Linked DNA regions of Homo sapiens: region 1 is linked to region 2. The links are contacts of gene promoters, found by promoter capture Hi-C in human tissues and cell types (Jung and others, 2019). All regions are on one chromosome and are shown on one strand. Each heading gives the region's core, a stretch centred on a gene start or on the middle of the fragment in contact. The rest is flanking DNA. Distances are from core to core; before and after follow the strand shown.

Region 1 (5,725 bases), core at 2,851-5,350, 520 kb after region 2:
TTCTGCAGCCCAACTTTAAAATAAATTTGGTGATGTCTTTCTTTTGCCAAGAGTAGATTTGAAGGGGGGAAAAAGCCATAACAACTTTTGGAAAATGTTCTCTGGTGTTTGAAAAGTTGTTAAATAAGACTGCCTGCCAAGAAATGTCACCAAAAATTCTGACTACTGAGAGAGAGTGGGCAAACAGCTCAAAAAATAATTCTAGCTTGCTGCAACATCACAGGTTGGGAATAGCTAAACCTCACACAGACTTCATGATTAATTCCAAGTTTCTCCTTGGAAGCCAGACATAATGATGTTCAGCGCTTTGTGTTATTGGTTAACACAGTACACTCTTTCCAACTGCATTATCAAACATAGTCAACAGTGTAAAGTGACTTCGCATGAGGAGAATTGTAAGGGGTAATATTTCAAGCCCATTGAACTTTCTGGAGAACCTTTCCCTCCAAAACTCTTTAGGTTTGCATTTACAATGAGCCTCTCTGACAAGTGAAAATGTGTGGGCAGGTACATTGGACAGGTATATATATTCCCTTTTCTCAGAACCATCTTTAAGTCATGCTTAAAGGGGACAACACAATTTAAGAAAAAAGAATAGGAGGTTGTGATAATTGGTATTCTGAAGAGCTCATATTTATAAAGCCAACCCATCATTTTACAAACATTTCAGAATTTTACCTTTTAGAAGGAAACAGTTCTGCCTGTTTGAGAAGTGCTGGTAAAGTTTAAAAGAACCTTTATGTGAAACACGAAACGTCATCTACCCAGGTAAATTGCTTGTCTTACCTGTTGTGGTTTTTTATTACTGTGTTGTAGGTATGTGACTGGTGTAAGCACATAAGACACACAAAAGAATACCTGGATTTTGGGGACGGGGAAAGAAGGCTTCAGTTCTGCAGTGCAAAATGTCTCAATCAATACAAAATGGACATTTTCTACAAAGAGACCCAGGCCAATCTTCCAGCTGGGCTGTGCAGCACATTACACCCTCCCATGGAAAATAAAGCAGAAGGCACCGGGGTGCAGCTGCTCACTCCAGACTCTTGGAATATCCCGCTAACAGATGCTCGGAGGAAGGCCCCCTCCCCGGTGGCTACAGCTGGCCAAAGCCAGGGCCCTGGCCCGTCGGCGTCCACCACCGTCTCTCCATCTGACACTGCCAACTGCTCTGTCACTAAAATCCCCACGCCAGTGCCCAAGTCCATCCCCATCAGCGAGACTCCAAATATCCCTCCTGTCTCCGTCCAGCCACCTGCTAGCATCGGGCCTCCCCTTGGCGTCCCGCCTCGGAGCCCTCCCATGGTGATGACCAACCGCGGCCCGGTGCCGCTGCCCATCTTCATGGAGCAGCAGATCATGCAGCAGATCCGCCCGCCCTTCATCCGCGGGCCTCCGCACCATGCCTCCAACCCCAACAGCCCCCTGTCCAACCCCATGCTTCCCGGCATCGGGCCCCCGCCCGGTGGCCCCAGAAACCTGGGCCCCACTTCCAGCCCCATGCACCGGCCCATGCTATCGCCCCACATCCACCCCCCGAGCACCCCCACCATGCCCGGGAACCCCCCAGGCCTGCTGCCCCCGCCGCCTCCGGGCGCCCCGCTGCCGAGTCTTCCCTTCCCGCCAGTGAGCATGATGCCAAATGGCCCGATGCCGGTGCCCCAGATGATGAATTTCGGGCTGCCGTCGCTTGCCCCGCTGGTGCCGCCCCCGACCCTGCTCGTGCCGTACCCCGTGATCGTGCCCCTACCGGTGCCCATCCCCATCCCCATCCCTATCCCTCACGTCAGCGACTCCAAGCCCCCCAACGGGTTCTCCAGCAACGGGGAGAACTTCATTCCGAACGCCCCTGGCGACTCCGCGGCGGCGGGCGGCAAGCCAAGCGGACACTCCCTGTCCCCCCGGGACTCCAAGCAGGGCTCGTCCAAGTCCGCGGACTCGCCCCCCGGCTGCTCGGGCCAGGCCCTGAGCCTGGCGCCCACGCCCGCCGAGCATGGCCGGAGCGAGGTGGTGGACCTGACGCGGCGCGCCGGCAGCCCCCCGGGCCCCCCGGGCGCGGGCGGCCAGCTCGGCTTCCCAGGCGTGCTGCAGGGCCCGCAGGACGGCGTCATCGACCTGACCGTGGGCCACCGAGCCCGGCTGCACAACGTGATCCACCGCGCGCTGCACGCGCACGTCAAGGCGGAGCGCGAGCCGAGCGCCGCGGAGCGCAGGACCTGCGGCGGCTGCAGGGACGGCCACTGCAGCCCGCCCGCCGCCGGCGACCCAGGCCCGGGCGCCCCGGCGGGCCCCGAGGCGGCCGCGGCCTGCAACGTCATCGTGAACGGCACGCGCGGCGCCGCCGCCGAGGGCGCTAAGAGCGCGGAGCCGCCTCCCGAGCAGCCGCCGCCGCCGCCGCCGCCCGCGCCCCCCAAGAAGCTGCTGTCGCCTGAGGAACCGGCGGTGAGCGAGCTAGAGTCGGTCAAGGAGAATAACTGTGCTTCCAACTGCCACCTGGACGGGGAGGCGGCCAAAAAGCTGATGGGCGAGGAGGCCCTGGCGGGGGGCGACAAGTCAGACCCGAACCTTAATAACCCCGCGGACGAGGACCATGCCTATGCTCTGCGGATGCTGCCCAAGACCGGCTGCGTGATCCAGCCTGTGCCAAAACCCGCGGAGAAGGCTGCCATGGCACCGTGCATCATCTCCTCGCCCATGCTCAGCGCCGGGCCTGAGGACCTGGAGCCGCCGCTCAAAAGGAGGTGCCTCCGAATTAGAAATCAGAATAAGTAAAAGGTTTGTATGTCCGCCGGGCGCTCCTCCACACCAGCCAGTGCACCTCTCCTTACTTCTGACAAGGCAGAGGGGAGAGTTGTAATTATAGTCATGATTTTACCGTGTGTGTTTTATATTGCACACGGTGTGGTCACGCTATCAACATTCTGAGCCAGCAGCTCTGATGCTGAGTTGTTCAGTAGCATCATTCCCATTTTACAGCCGAGGAAACTGAGCCACAGCATGTGAGTGCCAAGCCCCGGGTCACTTACTTGAGGGGAGAGCTCAGTCTCCAACCTGTCATGAAATATTGTCTCTCCAATTACACTTTATTATCATGCTCATCTCCGTAAATCACCCTATTGGAGAAGAGGAGGATGGGGGGAGGGAGAAGAGATTAACTTGGGACACCTAAATGTGTGATCATGAGGTTGCAGGGCAGTGGTGAAATGTCCAGTGAACCCATGAGCTGGGCCACCTACTAAATAGAGCTGGTTGCCTCATTGGCAGAATGTCACCAAATTTTCTTGATAAGGACGGGATTCCATTTGTAAAGTGAGAATGAAACCTAACTCTTACATGCATATGTCAACTGAACCCAGGCCACTGAGTCCTATTTGCCTGGCAGGGTGTCTTTCCTGTTCATGGGGTCTCCTTCCTGCAGTTTGGCACCAAGCAGCATCCCCCAGGGTAGGCCTCAAGCGTCACTGACCAGCTTTGCTCTCTCCCCCTTTTGGGGCCCAGCGGCTTAGCTGATGAGTTGCTCACCTTTGCAGGTAATGGGAGGCTTCGATAGGGAAGAGGGTGGCATTGCTAAAGTGAGTGACACTGCACATCTCTGACCTCATAGACAGACTCCTGCCTAATGCCAAGTGAGCCGCCAAGAGTGAGTTAAATTTTTCAATATTGGGAAGGGGAACTAACATGTGTGCCTGTCATAGGCAGAGGTGGCCTCATTTGCTCCTCCTGCCAATTCTGGTGGAATAGGCATCATCTGTATCTCACCAAGGAGGCAGATGAAGCTTAGATACTGTGCCCGAAGCAGAGCTGGTACGTGGGGAAGCCGTATTCAACTCAGGCCTGTTGGACACAGCCCAAGCTCTCCCGTCTATCCAAGCGGGCATCAAACAGGCCAAAATTCAGTTGAGTTTATCAACTTCTTATGGAGAGGAAGAGGAGAGATGAGCATTTATTGAGCACCTAACTTGTACACTGCTCCTTCCAGGGACTAGGGAGATACAAAGGTAAATGATGGCGTGCCCCCATCTGGTGGGAGTGCAAACTCCAGGAGGAAGGAAGCGGGGGCCAGGAGAGTGGATCTCGTAAGATGAATAATTGCTCACATTTGTATGCAGGCTGTCTTCTAAGTGTTTTTCGGTAGTATTTATTTGGATCTGGGTCCATAGGACAATTATCGTCTTCATTTTATTGATGAGGAAACCAAGACAGAGACATTAAAGTAACTTGCCCAAGATTTTACCAAATTAGCAGAGTTGAGATGCAAATCCAGGCTGTCTGACTCCAGAGCTGCATTTTTTAAAAAACCACTGTAGGAGAATAGGCTAATTAGTTTCTTTATTACCCTACATACTAAAATTGTTTTACCCACCTCAGTGGGTAAAACAACCCTCAGTTGTCATAGGGGAAAGTTTCTTAAAAAACAAACAAAAACTGAGTCTACCTCCTAACTTCTCTAAGTGTTCAGACAGTTGAATTCTTGTTTCTGCAGCACCAACAAGCCTAAATTACCAACCCATTACTCCACAGTGGGAAATACAAACGTGGAGCACAGCACTTGCTGTGGTGTGTCCAGTCCCTGGTCTCTAAGTTGGGCCCCTAGCATAGCCAGGAGATTGCTTGGGAAGCACAGACCAGAGCAAGGAGACTTGTCAGTTGAGGAAGAAAGGTTTCTCAGCCACCATCGTTCGAGGTTTCCTTTTCCTCTGATGGCTTTGCCAGTAGAGGAAGAATACTAAAAATGAGTTCACCATTCCTTCTTGATTTTACATCTACAAGTTCTGCTGCCTGAAGACAGATGGCCTCAGCCTTCTCACAGTCACCTCAATTGAAAATGCCCCTGATTTCTTCACGAGAGTAATTTAATCTGGTTGACAAAGCTGTGAGTAATGGGAAGATGTGTGACAAAAAAAGTGACGGCCTTCAGAAAGTCAGAAAGCATTGGGAATTGTCACTTTAAACACATTCTAATATCACTCATTCAGGTGAGGCTGAAAAGAAGAAGAATGGGAGGGTGAGAGATTTTACTATTATACCATCATTGGAGTGAGAAGTGACCAGGTCAAGAATAGTGACACTAACATATGAGTAGCTTGGGACCAAAATAACATAAAAACATAAAATACACGATGGCTATTTGGATGATATATGTTTCTGAATAAAGAATCAGTCTTGTATGTGGACCAGAATCATTAAAAATATCAACCTGGCTCCAGCCAATTTCAGAAGATGTGGTGATGAAATTGCCCACTACCTCTTGAGATTGAAGAGTTCTTTCAATGATGGGTCCCCCAAGAAATTACAGCTTTTCTTTAAAATCAGAAATACAGAAATACTCAGGCTTTGTCAGCTACGAAAGGGTGACAAGGCAAGTGATTTAAGATGGGGGAAAAACCACCTCTCCTCCACTAAATCACATTTCCTCTTGCCCTCAGAAGTTCCGTGTCACCTCACAGCACAGTCTCAACCTGCCACAATTTACTCACATTCTCTGGCCCTTCCTGGTTTGTTTTATTTATTTATTTAGTTATTTATTATTTTTTGAGACAGAGTCTCAATCTGTCACCCAGGCTGGAGCGCAGTGGCGCGACCTTGGCTCACTGCAACCTCGGCTGCCTGGGTTCAAGTGATTCTCCTGCCTCAGCCTCCTGAGTAGCTGGGGTTATAGCCACGCGCCACGATGCCCAGCTAATCTTTGTATTTTTAGTAGAGACAGGGTTTTGCCATGTTGGCCAGG
Region 2 (5,782 bases), core at 1,659-4,158:
ACTTTGGGAGGCCGAAGCTGGCGAATGACCTGAGGTCGGGAGTTCGAGACCAGCCTGACCAACATGCAGAAATCCCCTCTCTACTAAAAATACAAAACTAGCCGGGCATGGTGGCGCGCGCCTATAATCCCAGTTACTTGGGAGGCTGAGGCAGGAGAATCACTTGAACCCAGGAGGCAGAGGTTGCGGTGAGCCAAGATCAGACCATTGCAATCCAGCCTGGGCAACAAGAGCAAAACTCTGTCTCAAGAAAAAAAAAAAAAAAAGAAAGGCTGGGCGCGGTGGCTCACGCCTGTAATCCCAACATTTTGGGAGGCCAAGGTGAGCGGATCATGAGGTCAGGAGATTGAGACCATCCTGGCTAACACGGTGAAAGCCCGTCTCTATTAAAAATACAAAAAATTAGCCGGGAGTGGTGGCACGCGCCTGTAGTCCCAGCTACTCGGGAGGCTGTGGCAGGAAAATCCCTTGAACCTGGGAGGCGGAAGTTGCAGCGAGAAGAGATCACGCCACTGCACTACAGCCTGGTGATAGAGCGAGACTCTGTCTAAAAAAAAAAAGCACGGTGGCTCATGCCTGTGATCCCAACACTTTGGGAGGCCAGGCAGGCAGATCACCTGAGGTCCGGAAACCAGCCTGGGCAACATGGTGAAACTCCGTCTCTACTACAAATACAAACATTAGCAAGGCATGGTGGCACATGGACTGTAATCCCAGCTACTCCGTGAGGCTGAGGCAGGAAAATCGCTTGAACCCGGGAGGCAGACGTTGCAGTGAGCAGAGATCAAGCCACTGCACTCCAGCCCGGGTGACAGAGCGAGACTCCGTCTCAAAAAAAAAAAAAAAACAAAAAAAAAACTCATGTTCCATGACAGGAGGTTGATGTGACAGATTTCAAGGGCCACACAGACACCAGCTAACCCAGCAGCAGCAACTGGCGCTCTGGCTCCATCTTTCCTCTAGAATCCAAGAGGCTCTCTCCATTCATTTAGGAAATACGCACTGAACGCCTACTAAGTTATGAGACACCGGGTTAGAGGCTGGGGATGTGAAACTGTGAGGGAGATAAAAAATCTTGCCCAAGTCCCAGTACCGAGGAAAGCTTGACAGGCTCTTGTATGGTAGTATAAAGCCAATATCTAGGGATGAATGGTTTAAAAAAAAAAGAGAGAAAAACGGACTGCAAGGGTGGAAGTGGGGAGCGGGTAACAAGAGAAAGTCCTCCATCCCAGCCGTTTATATACCTGGCTACCTGAAGGACTCAGTTCCTTACCTCAGTTTCCTGCAACCGTAGCTTTCTGGCACTATGCCACGCTGCCCTGTGGCATGTTTACTATTTGTATTCAACCATTCAAAAGTTACTTTAAGGAGATGAACTGCACATTTCCAACTCTAGTGAGTAACCTTGTTCCTCCCGGCACTCTTGTCGAGTTAGCGTTTACGTGCAGAATTCTTCCAGAAAGACCACCTGAGCAATCAATAAAACTTTTATCTCTGTAAAAACACCTTGTTTAAAATAGCTACATAGGGAGACGTAGGTAAACAAGCACACAAGGGCCTCCAAATCGGTGGTGCACAGCTCACGGATGAGGCAAGGGCAAAGCATGCGTGGGAAATCACGTTTATCATAGAGAAGGAAAGGAGCGCTCACGAGGAGCGGCGAGCGCCCCAGGCTTCAGCTTTGCGGCCGGCCGGCCAGGCCTCGCGCCAGCCCGGGTGCACACCCAAGGCGCCGGGCCCGCCTCCAGCTCCTGGGCAGCGGGAACCGCGAACCGCCGTGGAACGGCCGGGAAGGGAGCGCTGCGCCCCCTGGCGGCGGGGCCCATCCCTCTCCGCTCCCGGCCGCCGCCGCCGCGGGCCGGCCTCGCTCCATTTGCAGCCTCCGGAGGCTTCGTTCCTCCGAGCGGCTGCTCCCCCGGCCTCCCGCTCGCCGCCCGGCATCTCCCTCCAGTCCCCGCCCCCTGCTCCCGCTCCGACACCCCCTTCCACACGCCGAGCAGTGCCCCGCCAAAGCCCCGCCGAGCGCGAGCGCCAAGCCGCCGCGAGTACGGCAGAGCCTTCCGGCCGCCCCGGCCGCTCCATCGCGGCGCCCGGCGGGGGTGCGGGGCCGGCGCGCGGCGCGAGTGGGGCGGGCGGCGGCGGCGGCGCGGACGGTTCCACCGCGCGAACCCCCCGCCCCCGCGCGGCGCGCGTGCTCCCCAGAACGCCATGGAGCCGCCGCGTTCCGAGCGGGCACAAAGGGGCGCGCAGCACAATGGGCGCGGCGAGCCCGTGGGCGCCCGGCGCCCGCTCCGGTCGCTCGGCCCGCGCGGGGGTGGGCGCTACTACCGGCGGGCGCGCTCGGAGCAGCCCCCCTCCGCGTCCCCTCCCCTGCTCCCGCCCCCACCCCGGCATGGATGTTGCAGCCACTCTACCGGCCGCTCGCCCCGGAGCCGCCAACGCTGCCGCCGCCGCGCGGCCGGCTTGATCCGCCCCGCACTTACCTGGGACGCGAGTTCTGTACTTTGCCGGGCGGGCCCGCGCCGAGTTTGGGCGCCACGTGGGGGGGAGGGCGCGGGGCCGGGGAGTGGGGGCCGCGCGCGGAGGGCCTGGCCAGGGCGGCCCGGGGAGGCGCTGGGGGCGGCGGGCGGGCGAGCGCCGTGTATTTTCCCCTCTCTTTGTGTGTGTCCGTGCGCTGCGCTCTCGCGTGACGTGACGGGACTCCGTGTGTCATTTCCGCACAAGGACACAGGAGCCCCCGCTGCAGTGGAACCACAACCCCTCCGCCCCCACCCCCGGCCCGCCCCTCCCCCTCAGCGGGGCACACGCGGGACCGGCGGCGGCGGCGCTCGGGCGTGAACGGCCGCGGCGGGGAGCTCGGGCGCGCACTCCCGGGACCCAGGCGGCCCGGCGCGCTCGGCCAGCGCAGTGGCTCCACGTGGGCCCGCGCTGGCTGCCCGGGGCGGGGGCGGCGGCCGCGCACCCACGGCGCGCCGGGCAGGCGCCGCGAACAATGTCCCCTGTACCCCATGTGTCCTCCCACCGCGAGTTCGTCCTCGGAAACGTGGTTTCTCAGACCCGAGAGTTTGGCCCCAAACGGCTTTTTCTACTTTTTTGCCCCTTGCGGGACGGCGACTGTGCGGAGCTTGTCCCGCCTCGCGCCCACGCCTCTCCCGCATTTTTGGCCTTTGGGCCGCAGCCCAGGCCCCCGGGGCCGGTCTTCCCGCGCCGCCACCGGCACAAAGACCTTGGGGCGCGAGGGCCCGGGTGGCTCCTGCGGCCCCGCGGGGCGGCATGGAGTCCGGCGGGACCCGGGAGAGCGACCCTGGCGCTGGGAAAAGCTGGCTCTGGCCACTCCCCCTGCACGGTGGCCGCCCTCTGTTGTGAGCCTCAGAGCTAAAATCTGCTCTTGCAACCCGAAGTTCTGGGGTGTGAGGCTGCGGAGCGAGAGCTTCGGAAGCGCCCGCGCTCACAGACACACACCCCACAAACACAAACCCACGGGCTGTCTGCGCCGAGCGCCTAAAATAGAAAAACACGAGTCACCAACTCAATAAAGGCTGATTCTGTCTACTCCTAACTCTTGGACTGTAGATTCCCAGTTGATAAATACGAAATCTACCCCTCGGGTATTTTCTCAAGTCTCAGTGGCTGGGTAGGGGGAGGGGGAGGTGCTGGGTGAGAGTCAGGGAAGCCCAATTCAACAGTTTAGCCACGTTTGTATTTTAGGCAAACAATGAGAATGTAAATTTAAGAAAAATCCTTTAATTTGCCGATCAAAGAAAGTATAAAAAGAAAAATGCAAATGATCCCATCTGCTGCTCACAGCTGACTGGCTGCAAGGGAGGACCATGTGGCACGGCCCTGCGCGGTCAGTGAATAGGTAGAATAGATTTTTAAAAGAAGGCATATGTTGGCTCCTTGCTGCCCAGTCGCGGCGAGGGTTTGAATTAACGTATAGTTTGGGTTTACCGTACCCTCCTTCAGACCACTCCAATTGGGAATTTAGTAATTATGCAAGTTCCCCCCCTTCGGGCTTGAAATCAAAAGGCACAGGGTTAAGTTTGAGGAACTACGTGGAACATTCTCGAGCTGTATTTGGATTACTGGTTTAGTGAAGTCAGTACTAATTGCTATGCAAAATTAAGCAAGCAGCCTGAAGAACCAAGCCCTGCATCCAGGGGGTGCTTTTATAGAAGAATCTATACGTGCTCAGTGTCATTGAAAACAGGATGATGAAAAGAATGGGGCCGAGATAGCAGCCCTTCAAATTCAAAAGACTTAGGTCGCCCTATCTACATTTAAAATAGGGCGGAGGGAGGAAGGGAGGAGGACTGCTTGGGGGAGAATGGTTAATTTATACATTCGCAGAAGACTGAGGGGAGGCACTTCGATTTCTGCAGAGAACTTGACTTTTACACTTGCACATTAAATAACACGTACGACACAGTACATCGCTTGACTTAGTTAACAGATACACCAGTTTTATTCTCACCTTCAATTTAATGTGACAGTTATAATTAGAATTTTTAAAGTAGAAGTTGCATTTCATTAGTTCAGTTTTCTAGGATTTCCCAGTAGAAGAGTTAGGAATAGTTAAGTAGCACTTAAGCACATTTTGCATTTAAATCACTTTGCTGTGGTGCTTTAAGAATGTAAAACGACCTTGTTAAATTTTTGGAAAGAGGACTAGATGAAACGTGTGTAGTGAGGGGATATATATTTAACCAATCTTTCACAGTGACAACTCAGGTTTTTAAGGAGAAATTAAATAATAAGACAATAGAGATAGAAATTAACATTTCTCTGTTCATATTGCTTGAAACAAAAGATTTCTGTCAAATACAATAATTGAACTGATATAGCTGACTTTTCAAAACAACTTTCAGGAAACTCAAACGGACCTTGAATATTATTGTAAAAGTATGTATCTTATATTTGCATAAATGGATCTATCTACTTAACAAAGTAAGTGGCTTGTTTCAAATAAGTTATTAATAGAAATAGAAGTCATTGCTATCCAAGAAAGGAAATCACCTTCCTTCAAATGGTTTTCTATGTGGTTTTCTTTTTTATATGGAGAAGGAAAATAACGCATAAAGGTGAAAAATGTATTGGAATAGTTGTATATAATTTTGGAAACTTCAAGACATAATAGTTTTGAAAGTGCAGTAACAGTTCATGGTTCATACGGATGTGTGTGTAAAGACCCGGAAAAATAACAACCTGGTTTTTAGAGGTCTGCTCAATTTGAAATTGCTTAATAAAAAATGCATTTTTCAAGATTTCAAATTAGAGCTGCTGCCATCGATCTAGTCAACTCATTTTCATTTGTACCTGAGTAAAATGTAGCAGGGGGAAAACTGGCTACTTGACCATATAAAACACTGAGACACTAAATGTAAAAACTCAAATGGAAAATTGCGTTATATAAAATGGGATATAAAAGAAGATTGGGATATAAAATGTAAATATATATAATTAAGAGTGGCAGACAGACAGACATTAGGTTTCAGATAACTGTTACTCTAAAGGCTTTTATCATTGCTAAAATATATTTATAGTTGGCAAGACAATATTTAGTAGGACTTTTTTTCAGTAAAGACTTAAAACAACGCAACAGATTTCACTGTTACTTGTGAGACATTTCCACTTTATTTCTTGCCTGCTGGATGTATAATTTCGCCAAGTCTTCAACTTCAAACAGAAGTAGCTGGCAGATCCAGATTCTGTGAATACTCACAACAGAAAAGTAAGAGGGTGAAAAACAGGGGCGTGAGAGGTAGTACTATATTAAATAGGA

Evidence for each region. The method cuts DNA at HindIII sites, captures the fragments that hold promoters and counts their contacts. A contact is called where the count stands out against the background at its distance.
Region 1: a contact is called between a fragment that was not itself captured here and the fragment with the promoter of BEND3 in region 2, in 1 of the 25 tissues and cell types used here (H1 embryonic stem cells).

The regions. Positions count from the first base shown.
Region 1 is chr6:107,632,698-107,638,422 of GRCh38, forward strand. It overlaps SOBP (sine oculis binding protein homolog), which reads left to right. Exons shown (of 7, transcript NM_018013.4): 6 at 817-2,772. The coding sequence ends at 2,769. Among named protein-coding and RNA genes, the nearest start is that of SOBP, 150 kb to the left of the region's middle. The HindIII fragment of the contact is 5,510 bases long and covers 1,346-5,725 here.
Region 2 is chr6:107,112,607-107,118,388 of GRCh38, forward strand. It overlaps BEND3 (BEN domain containing 3), which reads right to left and starts at 2,909. Exons shown (of 4, transcript NM_001367314.1): 1 at 2,484-2,909. RefSeq lists silencers at 1,623-2,532, 2,663-2,712, 2,753-2,802 and enhancers at 3,395-4,158, 4,159-4,924. The HindIII fragment of the contact is 9,723 bases long and covers 59-5,782 here.